Regions from separate parts of the Homo sapiens genome. Here region 1 is linked to region 2. Evidence: promoter capture Hi-C in human tissues and cell types (Jung and others, 2019). All regions are on one chromosome and are shown on one strand. The core of a region is centred on a gene start or on the middle of the fragment in contact, and the rest is flanking DNA. Distances in the headings are between cores, read along the strand shown. Region 1 overlaps SFMBT1 (Scm like with four mbt domains 1). Region 2 holds the start of ITIH3 (inter-alpha-trypsin inhibitor heavy chain 3).

Region 1 (4,134 bases), core at 525-3,024, 110 kb after region 2:
TATTCATCAATGTCCACAAAAATAGGTTGGGGTGGTGGGGAATGGGAAAAAAAAATCACAATCAGTTAAAATTTGCTGTAATATTTCCTTATATTTGTAGAGCTGTTTAGAATTCACCCAGTTTGCAGGATTAAAACATTTTCAAATCTTGAGGAAGAATGATTGGGTTATAAATTTGCAGGTGATTAGGATAAAAAAAATTCAGCAAAGCAAACCATTTAAGGGAGACAACCTATGTATGTTTTTCCTCACTCCTCATGACTAGAATAGTGCAGCAAACGCTATTATTCTATAATAGCTAGCAATGGAATAGTAAGTGAAAATTCACCTGGAGTTTCATGTTAACTTGAGCTGGGCTAAAAGACACACTTAAAAGAATACTGAGTTGTTTAAATGGGAATCCTCGGACTAAAGATTATATTCAATTTAAAGGATTAGCTGAAAAAAGTCTAAGTGTGGCTAGGCAAAGAGGTTTCCAGAATCCTTAACCACATCTCAGTATTTATCCTGCCACTGAGGACACTGCTAACAGAAACTCCATGCTCTGCGTTACCCTCCAAAACATGTTTTCTGTGCTGTGCTTCTACACTGGAGACACCTGGAAAGAAGGACAAATGGGCTTCGCTGTGGGTCCATGGAACACTTACTGATTTTCACCCAAAGTAAAGACCTTAGAAATGAAACAGAGGTAGACAAACAACTCTAGAGAAAAGTAAACACAAAATAAAAGTCACTGAAGTCCCTCTGAGAATGAATAGGAAGAGGGCAATTAAACAGAAATACTAACAGTCTTGGTGATGTTACTTAACACAGGCAGCCTCGGCTGGGTCAAGATGGAGAACAGTAACAGTAGAGTTCTCAGATCAGGTCAGTTAAGGAACTGGTGTAAGTGCCCCATATAATGTTTTTAAGAAAGCAAACAGTTTCCCCCCCTCCAAATTCTGTCATAATTTTAGTGTTTATGTAGCTTAAAAATGGCATCATACAAAAAACCTCATACATGGCTGTAAGCTCAATTATCAACAGAGGTAGTAAACAAAGGAACTCCTAAGAATCGATTTTAAAATGATCAAAGTGTGACTATACATTCAAAACCCTAGAGCCACATAATCATCCCCAAAATGAACTGTTTTAATTTTAAAAAGTTTAAAAACACAATGACAATGAAGCACTGATATGCCTTAGGAACAGTCCCAAATCAGTGCTGACTTAAAGCTAAGTCCTCTCTTTCCAAGAAAAAGAAAGCAGAGAACAAAGTTCAATCTACAATGGGAGGGAACAGAATGAAAACAACCAAAAGGGTGCTTTCCAGCAGCCTAGGTTATTCTTTGTTTTCAGGCCACACCACTGGAAATGCTTTTCTTCTTATATAAGTCTTTTCCTCACAACCTTTATTTTTTAAAAACTGCCATCTGCTGAACAAGAGATGTCCACATTTCCACCAGCAGGTGATCCACTTCTGTGCACAGTTTTTGCTTCCTCACTGTGAGTCCTCCTTCCCCGAAAGTGCAAAGAGAGCAAGCTGATACCTGCAGGCCCCAGAGCCCCAGGACTATTCCAGCTCCACTTATAAAGCAGGGTGAAGGATTTGCTGCATTTGTGCTTCAAAGATCCAGCTCACTTTGGTTGTCCTTCTCAGTTGGCAAACTGCTCATAAAAAGCAAACTTGATCCTCTCTATGTGATGGCAAAGTTTGATGGCAGGGCCCAATTTTAAGTCCATGCATTCTTGAACAGTGGGAAGGGTAAGGAGCAACAGGGCCTGCCCATCAATTTCCTGTTAAAGCATAAAAGACAAATTATCTGTGATGTGCACATGAAAGGCAGCTTGATCATGACAGCCTCTCCTCACTTTAGCTCTGTCAAAACTGGAATCCCTATGCTTTCCTTTCCTTACTTTTTCGTCTTAGGTATCACACACTTCCTTTTAAGTGACTCCATAGTCTTCCACACTAATGAAGCTTCAGAATTAATAAAGTTTTACTGAGGACAATAAAGTTTTACCAAGGATAAGAATCCATTCCAGAGTCTCTGTCCCATAGAAATTTAGTAAACTGACTAGCCCTGTAACTGGCAACTAATTGTGCCATCTTTTTAGAGGGTTCCTTCTAAATCTGAAACAAAGGATTAACTATCAACTTCAATGTTTTCCTACTCTGTAACATTCATAAAAACCCGATAAGCTCTTGAATCTCCCTAATTTTCTAAACAAAACTTATTTCAATGTTTAAGGCCACTGACTGTGTTTCAGCAAGCTTGCCTTAAAACTTATCACCACTCTAGAGCCTAATGTGACAGATGCTATTTTTTTTTAAACAAGCAAATCATTATTTTTGAAAAGATGTGGACAATTAAGCATGGTATGCTTGATATTGGAGGGATGGAATCAAATTCTTAGGAAAAACTGGAATGCAATGATAATCTCCTTCAACTATGAAGCAAGTCTGATAAATAACTTTTTATCATCTTTGACTCCTAAAAATGGAATTAAGACAATTCTTGTCTTTTGGATCAAAACATTTTTCCTAAAACTTGTAAATAAATTGTTGACTATTACATCCATAATTTATTGCTAAAGAGACATTACTAAAAATTATAGGTATCTGTGATTACCTGGTCTAGGAATATTCTTGCTAATGGAGCACAGTCAGTGGATCTGATGAACCGCACAACGTCTGCCACACTCCACTTCAAGGGGTTACTGTCCAGGTGAAGCCTTTCAGCAACTTCGATCCTTATTTCCTTCATTCCCCACAACACAATCAAACCAAATGGTGTTACGGCTATTTTATTCTAAAAAAGTCTCTCTACCTAAATTCATAATCTTTCAAGACATGATTTAAAGTGGTCTTAGGACATGATTTCTCCCAGCAAAGATGGCAAAGACCCACGTGCATCAGGTACTCAGGAAATGTCTGTCTTTTATAATACGAAGTATCAATGGGAAAGAATTTATCTCAAAGTTCCAGCACAGATAATTTAGACAATTTAACTAAGAAAAACAGGGTGCTGAAGAGAAGGGGATGATAATTCCATTGAGAGAAGGCTTAACTAAACTACCAGGAGGAATCTTTACTGCTTCTGTTCATGGAATATTCTTAAAAAGCAATCTAGTTTTTGAACACTAAATTGTTCTTTAGTGTTATACATATGTTATAAAATGTTCATATGTATATAGTAAATAATATATTAAGCCAAATGGCTTAACCAGAATCAAAAGGATAACTTTTTTCTACAAAACCATATATATTATGAAACATATTAAAAAGGCAGTTTTCCCAAAAATAAATGACAAGCTACAAATAAGCTAGCAATGGGGCTTTTTTTGTTGTTGTTGTTAAAACAAGCAGCTACTCTGAGAGAGACTTTCCCCCTATAAGTAGATGATCTCAACTAATCCTTGAAACACATGTAAATCACTGCATTTGGGGTCACTTTACAAGAGACCCTGGAAATTCTACATAAGTCTGTATTGAAAGAAGTAGAATGTCAATATCACTAATAATCATATTCCAGATGGAAATTCCAGAGAGAAAGAAAGAAAAAAGAAACTATTTTTTAAATGGTACCTTTGGTGAAGGAGGTTTATTTTCATCGTCAGAAAATGAAAAGGTGCGAAGCTCCCTTTTTCTCCTTTGTCTATCTGGAGGCAGCGATGTGGATATCTCACTTTGGGTGGGAGAAGAGGAGCATGACTTTTTTTCTGACATTTCTGATTCTTCCTGTAGCTCATCCTGCTGCTCGGATGTACTGCCTTCACTTAGGGAATCATCATCCCCTTCATCTGGGTCATCCTCATCTTCACCCCCACTTCCCTGCAGGAAAAGGAGAGAAGTCTCATTGAAATTCAGGACATCAATCCCAGGTTTCATATGATTAAAAAAAAATAATAAAGAAAGAAAAGAAATTCAGGACAAACCAGTTCTTGGGCCACAAAACCATCTTCTATTGGCCAGAGATCTGAGTTAGAAAGACCTGCAGGTATTCTGTGTCCATACTATAAAGCAGTGGTCACTTGGCTTCAAGACATTACAGGCACATCACAGATCTCATACCTGGGGAGAGCCCGCTGGGGTATTATCAACAGATGCAGAGGAGCGTTTCTTCTTATGAACAAAAACATTTTTCCGCCTCT
Region 2 (3,994 bases), core at 760-3,259:
CAAAGATCTCTTAGATTCCGTCTAATTATAAAGTCTGCATGACGACTCTGGTTCCTCCAAGTCCCCAGCCATCCCTTGAGGCTGCTTGAGCAGCTACAGAATCCCTATTTCGAGTTGTCCGTCTCCCCAAACTCCAGGCACTTGGGGATGAGGCAGTGGTCCAGATGAGAGAGTACAGGAGAAGCTCTGCAGGCAGCTGCAGGTCCGTGAGGAGGAGCCATTGGGCAACAGTGCCAGCCACCCAGTGCCAGCAGCCACAGGACTGAAAACATCCCAGAAGCCAGGAAATGAGGACACGGCAGCTCTGAGGGGTCTTCTCTCCACACCCAGGCGCCAGCACCTGCTGGGTTTGGCCTCCATCAGGCCCGAGCTTGGTGCCTGCTGCCAGTGAGGTTGGTGTAAGGGTTCAGGAGGCCCGAGGGAAACAGGCACCGCCCAGCCAGACACCAAGCACAGGCAGCATCTGCCACTTGGCCATCATTTCACTGGCTTGGAAACTCCCTCTTTTCAATTTTTTTTTTTTTTTTTGAGACGGGGGTCTCGCCCTGTCATCCGGGCTGGAGCGCAGTGGCACGAACACAGCGCTCACTGCAGCCTCGAACTCCTGGGCCCAGGTGATCCTCCAGCTTCAGTCTCCCAAAAAGCTGGGATTACAGGCAAGAGCCATAGTGCCTGGCTGATTTGGCAACTCTCCATCATTGCTCTGTGGCTGCTGCCTCTTCCAGCCATTAGACCACACCCTCCTCAGGGCTTCCGCTGCCCCGTGGCATCTGCCTTTTGCCTTCTTGGTTCCTCTGCTCCCAACAACTCTCTCTGCACATCTCCCAGTCAGCACCAGAGCTTTCAGCTGAGGCCGCTGAACTCCCCATAAGTTAGTTGTCCTGGACCCAGCCGTCCTTGTCGACTCCATTCAGTAGTGGGCTGCCCAGTGGGAGGGTCACAGGGTCAGCTTGGCTCAGAGAAGCCATGGGTATGGTGGGTGTGCAACAGCTGCCCTGATGGGGCTAGGCTGGCAGGGTCCTGAGGTGGCTCAGGAGGTCCCAGCCCCCACTGAGACCAGGTCCTGCCTCTAAAGCTCCTGTTGTCCTGGAAGCTGGAGCCCAGCCTCACTACGACTTTTAGGGCAATGACTCCCCAAAAGGCTGAGGGCAGCCAAGTCCCTGGCTGGGCCCTGGAAGCACAGAGGGAAACATGACATGGTCCAGCCCCCAGGAGCTCTGGGTGCAGAGGGGGCAGGCAGACCTGAGCACATCCACCTCAACATAAGGTCATGACAAAGCAGGCCCTCAGGGGGCTTGGGGCTTGGAGCAGGGATGTCCCATAGTCCTCTAGGGGATGGCCAGGGAAGGGTCCTGGAGGGGAGGCACTGGGACTGGCAGAGAGATGAAAGATGTGACATGTGCAGAAGGGGAGGGTGTGCTGGTGCAAGAGAGTGAGCTCAGAAAAACAAGCTGGGGTCAGATCACAGAGACAGCTGGGCTTCCGGGATCGTTGTGTGTCCTTTCCCTGGGGCTTTGGGGGCCATAGAAGGGTAGTGAGCGAGGGGCTCTGCTGTGGAGGTCCCAGCCTGAAGGTGACAGTCTAGTTTCACGCCCTGGCTGCCTCAAGAAGGGAGGGGCTGCAATCCAGGAGGCCAGAGAGAGGCTGTCCCAGTGGTAGGGATAAGAGGCAACAATGCTGAGATGCCCTTTGCCCTAAATGCAACTCCACACCCCATCTCCATCATCCACGCCAGGGAGTCCCAGGGTCCATTTGTTGGCCCACAGCTTCTGCTTTCCTGCGGGCCTCTTCCGAGTCCCCCGGTCTCTCAGGAATGAAGCCCCAACGCTGTTGGCAAGACCCACCAGGCCTTCTTCAGACAGACACATCGAGGGACCCGTCATTCCACCCATGCCCAGCTTCCCGGAGGCCCTTCCTGCCTCCACTCCTCCCACCCCCGCTGCAGGTCACTGACCCTGCTTGGAAAACACCAGGCTTGCTCATATAAGGAGCGTGGGCCAGGCCTGAGTATTCAGCGATGGCATTTGCATGGTGGCCCTGTCTCATCTTGGCTCTGCTCTCCAGCTTGGCAGCCTCTGGCTTCCCGAGAAGCCCCTTTCGGCTGCTTGGGGTGAGTCTGCCCCCTCTTTGCCATCTGGGTCTTGGTGTGGAATGGGCAGAAGGCATCATGCTGGGCAAGGCCTCTGAGTGGAGTGAAGAGGAGGCAGAGGGCTGGGCACTGAGCTGCTGGGAGTAGTGTGGACACTGGGAGAACCGGGCTCCAGCTGAGGCCTATGCTAACCTGTTGTCTAACCCTGGGAAGGCTCTTAAAACTCCCTGGGCCTCAGCTTCCCCACCTGTCAAAAGAGCAATGCACCAGGAACTGCTCACTTCACTGAGGGGCAATGAAGGTTCAAGTCTCAAACGAGTGTGACCTCTACAAAATGCTCAGTTGAGCCCTGCGGGGTGTGGCGGGGGCAGGGGTGCTCTGGAAGGAGGCCTAAAGGGGCCTGGGGGCCAGGGAAAGGCAGAATGGGAGATAGAATGAGGTGGGGCATGTAGGGTGTGAAGAGAGCTCTGGGTTCAGTTCCCCCTGCCCTGCTCTCCTGGTAACCTGGATACCTGCCCCTCTCTGGACCTCAGTTTCCCCATCTATTCAGAGTTTTTCCTACTCTGACATGTGGCTCTGGAGGGTCCTATGTCTGGGGGCCACTCAGGTGTGTGGGGGGCAGGGCACCACTGAACCCCTGGTCTCAGCCCAGAGCCTCCCAGGCCATGCGGCCTTGGTGTTGGCCTTGGCCTGATTCCTGTGTTTGTGTTTGTTTTTGTTTTTTCAGAAACGGAGCCTCCCGGAAGGGGTAAGAACTTTCACCAGGGGGTGGGACCGAGTGGGGCAGGGCAGGATGGAGCTGGTTCCCCAACTGCTGAAGGTGTAGGCTATAACAGCTGACTCCTCACAGCTGGCAAACAGCTTACGGCCCTCTGCCCTGGCAGCCTCCAACAGCGCAGGACTCCTGGGAAAGAGCACCACAGAGTGACGACCCCTCCAACCTCGCAGGATGTAGCCCAAGAGGGCCCCTCACAGGCATCCCTTCCTTCCGCAGACACTTCCTTAGCACTTGCTGGTACCTGGCTCTGTGAAGCGGTCCCTGCCACACCCTCACGAAGCATCTTTATATCCCTAGGGGGAGGGGGCTGGAACACCTCCCTAGAGCCTCTCAAAATTCAACACCCCTATTGGAAAGAGGGTGTTTGGAGACTTCCCTTGGCACAGGAAATCAGTTCCTCTTTGGGAGACAGAATGAGGCAATTACCTAAAGACCCAGGAGGTGGGCTGGGCTGTGTGCTTGAGGGAGTGTGAGGTGTGGAGGATGAGCAGGAAGAGCCAGGGGCAGATGCTCCAGAGCCAGTGTCCCACGCATAGCTGGAGCTCAGGGTGACTGGACGGGAAAGGGCAAGCTCTCACTGGCTGCAGTGGTGTGTAAACGGATCGCAGAATTAAGGAGGCAGGACAAGCATCTGAATAATGGTGGCCACCAGAACATGGAGACTGGAGACGCCACCAAGTCTTCCAGTGTAGAAGACCTGGAGGATGAGGGTTGCGTGCCGGGCAGGGGCCTCAGAGCCTCCAAGGGTTTGCAAGGGAGGTGGCTGGGTTGCAAACCTGCTTCTCCAGTGTCCCAGTCTGGCTGATTCTCCACCCACCTCCCCAAAGGTGGCCAATGGCATCGAGGTCTACAGTACCAAAATCAACTCCAAGGTGACCTCCCGTTTTGCTCACAATGTTGTCACCATGAGAGCCGTCAACCGTGCAGACACGGCCAAGGAGGTTTCCTTTGATGTGGAGCTGCCCAAGACGGCCTTCATCACCAACTTCACCTTGTGGGTACCACCATGGCTGCTGGCTCTGGGCTCGGGAACAGGGGGTCTGGCCCAGTGTGATCTCCCTACCCCCAACTCTCTTTCCCTGCAGGACCATCGACGGTGTTACCTACCCTGGGAATGTCAAGGAGAA

Evidence for each region. The method cuts DNA at HindIII sites, captures the fragments that hold promoters and counts their contacts. A contact is called where the count stands out against the background at its distance.
Region 1: a fragment that was not itself captured here is called in contact with the fragment with the promoter of ITIH3 in region 2 in 5 of the 25 tissues and cell types used here (IMR-90 fibroblasts, dorsolateral prefrontal cortex, heart left ventricle and 2 more).

What each region holds. Positions count from the first base shown.
Region 1 is chr3:52,903,501-52,907,634 of GRCh38, forward strand. It overlaps SFMBT1 (Scm like with four mbt domains 1), which reads right to left. Exons shown (of 21, transcript NM_016329.4): 18 at 4,055-4,134; 19 at 3,569-3,814; 20 at 2,613-2,741; 21 at 72-1,776. The coding sequence ends at 1,636. Among named protein-coding and RNA genes, the nearest start is that of STIMATE-MUSTN1, 8.0 kb to the left of the region's middle. The HindIII fragment of the contact is 5,171 bases long and covers 1-4,134 here.
Region 2 is chr3:52,792,787-52,796,780 of GRCh38, forward strand. ITIH3 (inter-alpha-trypsin inhibitor heavy chain 3) reads left to right here and starts at 2,010. Exons shown (of 22, transcript NM_002217.4): 1 at 2,010-2,110; 2 at 2,817-2,837; 3 at 3,695-3,861; 4 at 3,953-3,994. The coding sequence starts at 2,018. RefSeq lists an enhancer at 1,608-2,497. The HindIII fragment of the contact is 27,249 bases long and covers 1-3,994 here.